2 separate regions of the Homo sapiens genome follow, and region 1 is linked to region 2. The links are contacts of gene promoters, found by promoter capture Hi-C in blood cells and fetal thymus (Javierre and others, 2016). All regions are on one chromosome and are shown on one strand. The core of a region is centred on a gene start or on the middle of the fragment in contact, and the rest is flanking DNA. Distances in the headings are between cores, read along the strand shown. Region 1 overlaps TACC1 (transforming acidic coiled-coil containing protein 1). Region 2 holds the start of RNF122 (ring finger protein 122).

Region 1 (5,560 bases), core at 662-3,161, 5.2 Mb after region 2:
GCTAGTCCAGAGTACCGCCAATGGCCTTGTCACACATACACAGCAAATGTGCAAAGACAGCCAGAGCACAGGTCTGCCTGGAGAGGATTTCAGTGGGCAGAAAGCCCTTCAGAGTCATTTCATATTGAAGTTTAATTTCTGGGACTGGATAAGTTCCCTTTCTCCCAAAATTATTGATTGTTTTGTTCCTGGTAAAGATAGTCTTTCATACTTTTGTGGTTCCAAGACATGGTTGGACCGCAGTTATAAATTATATAAGACTAAATCATTCTGGAAGAATGATTTACGAGGAGTTAGTCAGGAGTTGGAGTTGAAATATGTAAACATTCTGGCTTCCTGGTACATAATGGCCCTCAAACGTGTGGGCTACATTTACCATACCCATGGCTCCTGTGCTGACTTCTGTATAGTTCTTTGAACTCAGGGAAACATCTAAGACTATTTTGAAATGACTTTTCTTATACTGGAACTGCTTTAGGAACTTGCAGTATCTAAACTCTATAATGACTCTTCCTAAGAGTTGTATGCCAGGAGTTAAGTGGCGGATAAGGTTGTAGATTTTTTTTGAAGCCACATATAGAAGCAGGTTTTAGGCTTACTGGTAAAATAAAACTCTAGCTAAAGATATTTCCTGGAAATAACCAGACTGGTAGCTGTAAAGCTTGGGCTGGTCTGTATTTGCTATCTGTCTGTTTTCTCCCACTAAAGTTGTTTAATGCTGCTGCTGTTGTGGTGGTCTTTCTCTTTGCTGGGAAATATATTGGTGAAGAAACATCCTCTAGGAATGGACTTTTGAGGAGGTACAATCTCAAGTTCATCCTCTGTTTTGTTTTGCTTTGAGACAGGATCTATGTCTAGACTGGAGTGCAGTAGTATGATCATAGCTTACTGCAGCCTCCAACTCCTGGGCTCAGATGATCCTCCTGCCTCAGCCTCCTGAGTAGCTGGGACTATAGGCACACACTACCATGCCTGGCTAATTTTTTGTTTTGTTTTGTTTTTTGAGATAGAGTCTCGCTCTGTTGCCCTGGCTGAAATGCAGTGGTGCGATCTCGGCTCACTGCAAGCTCCGCCTCCTGGGTTCACGCCATTCTTCTGCCTCAGCCTCCCAAGTAGCTAGGACCACAGGCGCCCACCACTACGCCCAGCTAATTTTTTGTATTTTTAGTAGAGACGGGGTTTCACCGTGTTAGCCAGGATGGTCTCGATCTCCTGACCTCGTGATCCGCCCGCCTTGGCCTCCCAAAGTGCTGGGATTACAGGCGTGAGCCACCACGCCTGGCCAGTTTTTTTATTTTTTGTAGAGATAGGGTCTTGCTATGTTGCCTAGGCTGATCTCGAACTCCTGGCCTAAAGGGATTCTCCTGCCTCACCCTCCCAAAGTCCTGGGATTACAGGCGTGAGCTACCATGCCTGGCTTTTGTGTTTGCATGTGTGTTTATGGAGGACTTAGGGGTTGTGGCTTTGTGTAGCTGTTTCAGTCACAAAAACTGCAGTGGGTGCCCTCTGCCCCTTGAGTTTCTCCTTCACCAACATAGCCCCCCTTCCCCAAACACACACACCTTTATCTACAGATTGTTACCTCTCTCTGAGAAAGAGAATCTTAATTAGTGTAGAAGCTCTCACATCACCCTTGGAACAACTCGTTAAACCTCTCCAGTTTGATGTGTTAATTAAATGCCTAGGTATTTCAAACACAAACTGTAGTTCTCTGGACTTTTCCCCAGAATAGAAGAAAAGAGATAAATGGGATCTGTGCACAGATATTTACTGCCTCAGGCCTGTGAGGGAATGCCAAGTTGTTTGTTGACACAATTTTGGTAGTCTCGATCAGAATCAGCAAACTGTGACTCATAGACCAAGCCCTGCCTGTCCTGTTTTTTTGCATGGCCCTGAACAGAAGAATGAGTTTTACATTTTTTGATGGTTTAATGGTGATGTGTGAAAATAATGTGAAATCCAAATTTCAGGGCCCATCAATGGTCACACGATTATGTGAATTTACTAAAAACCATTGCATCATATATTTTAAAGGGTGGACTGTATGGTTTGTGAATTATATCTCAATAAAGTAGTTCTTAAAAAAAAACAAAACAAAATTTCAGGGCCCATCAAGTTATATATATATGAAATATATATTTTGGTAGATATGGGGTCTTGCTATGTTGCCCAGGCTGATCTTGAGCTCCAGGGCTCAAGTAAGTGATCCTCCCACCTCAGCCTCCCAAAATGCTGGGATTTCAGGTTTGAACCACCACTGTCATCCCCATAAATAAAGTTATTGGAATACAGCCATACTCATTCATTCATGTATTGTCTATGGCTGCTTTTGCTCTACAATAGCTGGGTTGAGTACTTGGAACAGAGACCAAATGTCTGGCAAAAGTCTAACATATTTACTATCTTGTACAGAAAAAAAATGTCAACCTACATCTATACTTATTACAATTTCAGTAAAAATACAGAGTTTAAGTAATTTGGGAAAATGGCTTTAAGAATGAAAAGGTGCAAGGTTATACCTGCTGAACAAATGAACTGTGGGCGTGAGGTGCCATTAGTCTAGGCCTGCATGTTCAGGGAAGGCCCAGGGGAGAGCCTGATGTGGCCTGGCTATTTGTCATATTTGCAAAGGGGAAGTGATGTAATTGGTCTGCAATGAACTTGATTTTCAATTGACTCAAAGATCTAAGGAGGAATAAAAATTATTTAAAAAGGAAATTAGGGAAGAATGGGGAGAATATTGGAATCATTTAATAGAAGTACAAACACATAGACTTTTAACTTTTGCCCATTAAATTTTTTTTAACATTTTATTTTCTTAAATTTTTTTTAAAAAAATAGTGATGGGGTTTCACTGTGTTGCCCAGGCTGGTCTCGAACTCCTGGGCTCAAGTGATCCTCCCACCTTGGCCTCCCAAAGTGTTGGGGTTACAGGCATGAGCCAGCCTCACCCAACCCATTAAATGTCTTTAATGTAACTTCGGGTGTATGAGAATTTGTAAGTTGACTGTGCAGATCTCTTAAAAGGTTGATATGGTGTATTTTTAGAATGTTTTAGACTGCACGTGTGTGTGTGTTTGTTTGTGTGTGTGTGTGTGTGCGTGCTATAGAAAACACAGCATGGAAACCTTGTTAAAATCAGAGGCTTTGATTTTTTATTCTAAAGCTTTGAGTTATATGTTTAATCAGATACTATGTGAAAAATTTTCATTAGGTACATATTGAAGTGTTCCATTCAAGTCTACAAGTATATCCTCCTAAGGATTTAGTTTAACATCCTTTCCCTGCTCCAACAAGGGAATGCTTTATTAGAGTTTCCTAGAAATAATGGGACTAATTAGGACCTTTCATATTACCTAGTCCAGCAGTCCAACCCATGTGGCTCCTTCAACAGCATCGCAGCCTAATGCTTTTAATTTAATTTTAAATTTTTAATGTTTTGCTGTGATTGCCTCTTCCACAGTTTGATTTTTTTGTACTGTATAATTCCATGTTAAGGTATTTAAAGCTTGAAAATCTTAGCATGATATAGCTACTTTGTTTTTTCATGTATTTTTAGCTCTGAAGTTGGAGATTCCAACCAGCTAATAAATGAGATCAGAGTCATGTGTTTTTTTGTTGTTGTTGCTCTATCACAATGTAAATGTGCCCCTAGGAAGCACCTGCTTCTATATGGTGCCTTACCCAAGGGAGTGTCTTCCTGGGGAAAAAAGTGTAGTTTTTCCAGCAGAAACTTGTGAGAGTGCAGAACCACAGAGGAGCAACAGTGTCTGAATAAAAAATTCCAGGGCAGGGAAGCAAAGTCTACCTGCAGAAAGGAAAGATTTTAGTAACTATCAAATCACAATTTTTCTTTTAAGATGAGTGACAAAATCAAGACCTTGCACTCCCCCATTTTGGGCTTACCCAAGCATCGAATAAAGCAGTAGAACTTACTTTGGTACTTGCGGGTGGCAGAGACACTTTCTACCTGTGTATGTGTTTTGGGAGCCGGCAGTCCTTCTAAAATTATATTGCTGCCATGTAATGTCCCACCTACAAAATGGATGTGGCCTAAAGCCATTTAAACATTTAAATGAAAGAGCAGTTGCAGTGTCTTTTTCAGGTTACCAGTTATACTGCCCAGAGGAAATCTTGGAGGGTATAAACCATTTTGTCACACTCTCCTAAATCCAGAGTAGCGATGGGAGATAATGGTTTATCCACCCAAAACAACCCTCTCAGTGGAGATTTCATAACCAAGGTTGCTAAATTGCCTGGTGACTATTAAATCTGGGCTTAGAAAGGCTTTGCTACTTGTGAGTTCAAGATCTCACCCTCACCTTTGCATGTACATGACCTAATTTTATGAGTTCAAACAAACATGATTAGATCCCCAGGGTTTAGATTGATGATGGCCAGACTCACAAGGGAATAATAATAATGGCATGGAGTATTTTATTAATTCACAAATGAAAAATGTATCTTGACAGTTTGGCAGATGCAGATACTCTCCTAGCCAGTCGAGGACCCTCTTTCTTATATCATAGCTGGAAATATGACAATAAATGATTGATCTCCAGCTTTCCCATTACAATATTCCCACCTAGCAGATCACCAGCTATCTGTTTCAGCCGTATTTATTTATTAGATGTGTTGGGAACAAGTAATCTTTGTTTGCAGCATCTTGTTTGATTTTTATGACCATGATTCTGCGAGATAGGACACAAGTGATTTCCATTTCACAGATTGGGAAATTGAGGCCAGAGCCTTTACTGCTAGTAGTGGACCTGGGTTTTGAATTCAGCTTTTAAGATTGCAGATCCAGAGCTCTTTGGAACATATTATACAGCTTTTCTCTCCAGGAAATTTGTGAATCCCTCTCTGTTGTTCACTATCTGAAGAGAAGACATATCAGAGGAAATAAAGGGTCTTAAAATGTTGCCAGAGCAGGGTGTGTGATGGGGGAAAGCATCGTCTTAAGTATCCTGTCATGTGATAGTAGTTTAAAAAATCAAAAAATACATCTTCCACATGTGTGAACTTGGCACATATTATTCTGAAGTATGAAATGTATTTTAGGAAGTTGAAACATCAGAAGTTTGGAAGCTTGCAGCATGATTTAGATATAAATTAATAGTCAAGCAAAAATCATCACTGGATAAGTGCAGTGGGATTGAAAACATTTTGCTTCCTCAATGCCTAGCTTCAGCTCATCAGTGAAAAATAAAGAAGGAGTAGACAAATTCAGTACTAGCCTTTGCATTCTGTCTCCACCTGAGTCATGCATGGTTGAGAAGAGGCAGGTGTGTGGAGGTGTGTGCGGCTGCCAGGGGCTCTGCGCCTGTTTTATGGTAGATAGAGGAGTTTTTAAGAGGCCTTTGTTGGTGATCTCTGGCTGCATAACAAATTACTCCAAAACTGAAAACAACGAACATCTCACATAGTCTTTGTAGTTGGGAAATTTGGGAGCTGGGTGGTGTGGCTCAGGTCACTTTTGAGAATGCTGTCAAGATGTCGGCTGGGACTGCAGTTGTTTAAAGACTTGACTGAGGCTCAAGAATCCTCTCCTAAGGCGGCT
Region 2 (5,442 bases), core at 2,290-4,789:
TCTGTGGGTCAAAGAAGAACAATTTTCCATGAGGACATCATGGCAGACTGGCTAGAGTGACAAACTTCAGTCTATGCTGGAAAAGGGGCTCAGGACTTCCCTTCCAACAAGACCTGGTGCTCCCAGCTGTTTTCTCACCTCCTTCCCCCGCACTATTTGATGTTACAAGAGGGTCTAACCCCCCGTTTCCTTAGTTCTTCCAGGCACCTTTTATGAGCTGAAACCTCCTTTGGTTTCCAGTTCTGGGAACTTGCAGAACCTGGTCAGAGCTATTACAGAGGATATCTGTGCACTCCACAAGCACGATGGTCCCCGCAAGTCCTCTGATCAGTTTATCCCCACCAACTTATCCTGCCTGATAAAGGCTTCCCCTTTATCTCCCACTGATTGAATCAGTGAGCTTGGTATTTCACGTGATAAAGAGGTCGGTGGGAAGAGCATAGTCAAGAGGAGATGGTTCATTTGCTTGTGTTACTATTAAAGAAATGGCAAAATAGTCTACTGGTCAAAAGCTGACACTGTAGTAAGTTTTTCTTTAAAACTGTATAAGGACAGAGAATACCAGCCCCAGGAAAGAGGGGCTCCAGGTAGTTTCTGAAGGGGTGAGGGAAGGGTTGCTTCTTCACAGGAGTCAAAGGACAGGATCTCTCAGTCACTTTTCTAAGAAGTGCAAAGAGGGCCAGACAAGGTGGCTCCTGCAGGTAATTCCAGCATTTTGAGAGTCCGTGGTGGGAGGACTGCTTGAGCCCAGGAGTTCAAGACCAGCATAGGCAATGTAGTGAAACCCTATCCCCAAAAAGTAGATTAATTAATTAATTAATTAAAAATTAGCCAGTAGCCAGGTATGGTTGCACACACCTGTGGTTCCAGCTATGCTGGGAGGCTGAGGCAGGAGGATCCCTTCAGCCTGGGAGTTGGAGGCCGCAGTGAGCCCTGATCGTGCCACTGCACTCCAGCATGGTTGTCGGAGTGAGACCCTCTCTCAAAAAAAAAATTAAAGTAGGCTGGGCGCAGTGGCTCACGCCTGTAATCCCAGCACTTTGGGAGGCTGAGGTGGGCAGATCACCTGAGGTCAAAAGTTCAAGACCAGTCTGAACAACATGGAGAAACCCCCTCTCTACTAAAAATACAAAATTAGCCGGCCATGGTGGCACATGCCTGTAATCCCAGGTACTCGGGAAGCTGAGGCAGGAGAACCGCTTGAACCCGGGAGGCGGAGGTTGTGGTGAGCCGAGATCACACCATTGCACTCCAGCCTGGACAACAAGAGCGAAACTCAGTCTCAAAAAAATAAAAAATAAAAAATAAAAAAAATAAAGCAGCAAGTCTAAAATCTGATATGAAAGGGCGCTGCCCAGAAAGGGCAGTGTTACTGACAGCTGCCTCATTTCTCCCTAAGTCTCTGTTCCATTGTCTCGGCCAACCTATGAAAGCACTGACATCAGAATGTCTCATCTCATCTGGCAGGCTGGGAGCAGGAATGACGTCAGACAAGGGCTGGCCAAGAAAGACCAGGGGATCTGGGAACTGCTTCTCTTTCCCAGCCAACGGGAATCTTTCCCAGATGCTAGGGTGCAAGGGCCTTCCTCAACCCCCATCCTCTGCCCCCTCTCCCACAAAACCGCCTATCACACACGGCTTGGTTCATTTTCAGGAAATGAGATCCGACCAGCAAAAGGAGGAAGGCGGGGTGGGGGGATGTGGGGTATACATGCTACCCAAACCCTGCCTCAAAACAAAGCCTCTTGACATAATTAATCCAAGATCTGGCAGGAGTCTACTCTAAAGAATGATTTTTTTCCCCCTGTAACTAGCTCGCTTGCCATACTGAGAGATAAGGCCAGCTGCTTCCCATCTCTCTCTCCCAGAAACTCTCCAAGCATCGGAACAACGCGGTCAAGACTAGGACCCCAGGAGGACTGGAGCGGGTGGGGTGGGGGGCGATTAGTATCCAAGGTTTTGAAGTGTCCCGCTCAGAAACACCTACCTTTCAGGTAGCTCGCTGAGGAATCAGACTCCAGCCTAACCCAGTATCACCTGAACCTCCAAAAAGCCTCAGGTGAAATGAACTAACTTAGAAGCATCACCCAGGCCTGGGGAGAAATGGGGCGAGGGGTTGTCGCGTCTGGAGGTGTGGCCTTCACTTGGGCTCAGGAGCAGACACCCTAATCTGGCCTTGTGGCCAGAAACACGGCTCCCGCCAGGCCAGCCTCGCACCCCAGGGACAGCCGGGCGCGGAGCTCTCTGCGAGGGTTTATCAACTCAGGAAAACGGCTTTTTTTTAGATGGAGTTTCGCTCTTGTTGCCCAGGCTGGAGTGTAATGGCACGATCTAGGCTCACTGCAATCTCCGCCTCCTGGGTTCAAGCGATTCTCCTGCCTCAGCCTCCCAAGTAGCTGGGCTTACAGGCATGCGCCACCACTCCCGGCTAATTTTGTATTTTTAGTAGAGACGGAGTTTCTCCATGTTGGTTAGGCTGGTCTCGAACTCCCGACTTCAGGTGATCCGCCCGCCTCGGCCTCCCAAAGTGCTGGGATTACAGGCGTGAGCCACCGCGCCTGGCCGAAAGCGACTCTTTAATCCAGTCTTCCGCAAGCACCCAAGCCACGCCAGCAGCCCGTGGGAAACCAACAAAGCCAGAGGAAGCTACCCCCGCGCCCAGTCCCGCACGCTGCACGGTATACATATTTACAATAGCCTGCAAAGTTTCAGGCCGGGAACTTGAGCTCCCTCTAGGAGATCCCAGCCCGAGTGCGGATTTAATTCTCCTCCAACAACCACAACAAAGAACAGAGTTTGAGCGCACAAAGGCAGGGGAAGGGGGTAGAAGAGCCGGGCCGCCACACAAAGGCCGGGAACCCCTCGGCTCCCACGCCCCCGGCCCGCCGCCAGTCCGGAGGCCCCTTCCAGGCTCTGGAGTGAAACCTGGATAGTTTCAAATTCCGCGCTGTGCAGAGCAGAGTGGGGCGCCAAGACGCCTTCTCGACTGTCCCATTTCAGGAGAAACTTGGTTCCCGAGGGAGGACCAGCGCGCTGCTGTCCGACCTCGCACCCCGCGCCGCGGCTCCCACCAGCCCCACGTAGGCTCGGCCCTCGCCCCGGGGACTCACCGTTACACCACTGGAATGGGTGCATCAATGAAGTCGCGGTTGGCTTCCTCGGGCGAACGGACGCAGGCGGGGTGCCAGGAGGGCGGGGTGGGAGCACTAGCGGCGTGAGGGGCCGCAGGCGGGGTCGGGGCAGCGCGCTGCAGCCGCCCTGCTGGAGAAGCCGAACTCCCTCCGGAGTGGGGGGCTTTGACGAGGCTGGTGTTCAGCCCAACAAAGAGGGACGAGGAGGAAACAAACAAAGTCCCGCGGAGCACAGCCGCACGGAGCGCACGCGCCAAGGGCCCCGGGCTGGGGGAATGTGGGGCGCCGCGGGGCGGGGGTGCCCGGGCTGCAGAAGCCCTCGGCCGGGGGAGGAGGGAAAAACCTTTGCCGGAGGCTCGGATCGGGTTCAGCGGCGCAGAGGTGAGCTGGCTGGGGTTCCGAAACTGACACCCGGCGGTGCACACCCCCTCCCTTTTACTTCCCCCACCAGTCCCCAGGAAAACTCCGCCCCTTGTTCGTCACCCTCCCTCCGACCAATCGGAGCCTTTCTCCTGCCCCCGGCTATTATTTGCAGGCCCAGCCTCCCTTCCCTGGAAGCCGGGAGGATCTTCGCACGGTGGGCGCCTCCCACTTAGTCTTCCCAGGCCTGGGGAAACTTCGGTCTGCAGAGAATGGAGCGGCGACGAGCGATGCCCCGGAGTGGGGGCCTGCCTTTTGCCCAGGGACACCAAGGCAAAGGAACAATTACTGCCACATTGTTTTCCGCCTACAGATCTGTTATTTATTTACTTATGTATTTGGAGGCAGAGTCTGCCTCTATCGCCAAGGCTGGAGTGCAGCGGCGCGATCTCAGCTCACTGCAACCTCTGCCTCTCGGGTTCAGGTGATTCTCCTGCCTCAGCCTCCTGAGTAGCTGGGATTACAGGCGCTTACCACCATGCCCAGATAATTTTTGTATTTTTAATAGCGACGGGGTTTCGCCATGTTGGACAGGCTGTTCTCGAACTCCTGGCCTCAAGTGATCCTCCTGCTTCAGCCTTCCAAAGTGCTGGGATTATAGGCGTGAGCCACCGCTCCCGGCCCTCTTTTTCTTTTTTGAGTTAGAGTCTTGCTCTGTCACTCAGCTGGAGTGCAGCGGTGCAATAATAGCTTACTGCAGCCTCCAACTTCTGGGCCCAAGCAGTCCTGCCACCTTAGCCTCCCAAGAAACTGGGACCACAGGTGCCTGCCACCAAGCCCAGCTACTTTTTAATTGTTTTGTATAGATGAGTGGCCTCACTATGTTGCTCAGGCTGGTCTCGAACTCCTGGACTCAAGTGATCCTCCCGCCTGAGCCTCCCAGATTGCTGGGATTACAGGCATGAGCCATGGCACCCAGGACATTTCATTTCTTAATTGGATAATTGCAAAAGCTTCCTAACTGGCCATTCTGATTCTAGTCTATAGCTCAGACTTCAGAGCCTACAAGAATCACTCCTATGTTTGAGATGTAACATGCAGATTCCCAGGCCTTGAACCCAGAGATTCTGATTCAATAAAGGGTGGACCCAGAAATTTTCATTTTAATGTGCCTTGTCTTCCCCACCCCTCAAATTCTCATGCGGCTATTGAAAGAAACAGTGCTCTGATTTCACTCTCAAGTCCATCCCTTCTGGTCACAATTATCTCTGTAAAATGTAAATCTGAACATTTCTTTGCTTGATAACGTTTGTTGGTCTCCAGTGTTTACTGAATAAAGTTCTGTAAACTAGAGTGTGGCATTCAAAATGTTTCAGTCTAGACTCACTCCTATAATCTCAAAACTTCGGGAGGCTGAGGCGGGCAGATTGCTTGAGCTCAAGAGTTTGAGACCATCCTGGGCAACATGGTGAAGCCACCTGTAAAAAAAATACAAAAATTAGCTGGGCCTGGTGGTGCGCACCTGCGGTCCCAGCTACTCTGGTGGCTGAGGTGGGAGAATCACTGGAGTTCGAGAAGTCGAGGATGCAGCTGCAGTGAGCTGTGATTGTGCCACTGCACTCCAGCCTGGGCGACAGAATGAGACTACTCTGTTTCAAAAAGAAAAAAGAAAAAACTATTAAAATAAAGTGTTTCAGTCTAGCCTTATTTGTTTCAGTCTTCCTCATACTCAAATACTCCCCTTCACCACACACTATTCATCAGCCATGAAGCTTTTTGTTGTTACTCTTCCTTGAACATAGGCTGTGTATATTCTTTTTTGTTGTTGTTTTTATTTATTTAGAGACAAGGTCTGGTTCTGTTGCCCAGGTTTGAATGCAGTTGCATGATCTTGGCTCACTACAACCTCCACCTCCTGGGTTCAAGCCATCCTCCCACCTCAGCCTCCTGA

What was found. Contacts are between HindIII fragments. The CHiCAGO score rates a contact against its expected background, and 5 or more counts as called.
Region 1: a contact is called between a fragment that was not itself captured here and the fragment with the promoter of RNF122 in region 2, in 1 of 17 cell types (M2 macrophages). The highest score is 5.0, in M2 macrophages.

Annotation. Positions count from the first base shown.
Region 1 is chr8:38,791,481-38,797,040 of GRCh38, forward strand. All of the region lies in intron 2 of TACC1 (transforming acidic coiled-coil containing protein 1), which reads left to right. Among named protein-coding and RNA genes, the nearest start is that of TACC1, 7.0 kb to the left of the region's middle. RefSeq lists enhancers at 2,491-2,785, 5,376-5,560. The HindIII fragment of the contact is 2,505 bases long and covers 660-3,164 here.
Region 2 is chr8:33,563,589-33,569,030 of GRCh38, forward strand. It overlaps RNF122 (ring finger protein 122), which reads right to left and starts at 3,540. Exons shown (of 6, transcript NM_024787.3): 1 at 3,111-3,540. The coding sequence starts at 3,135. RefSeq lists silencers at 2,915-2,964, 3,105-3,154, 3,185-3,254, 3,305-3,424. The HindIII fragment of the contact is 8,620 bases long and covers 1-4,502 here.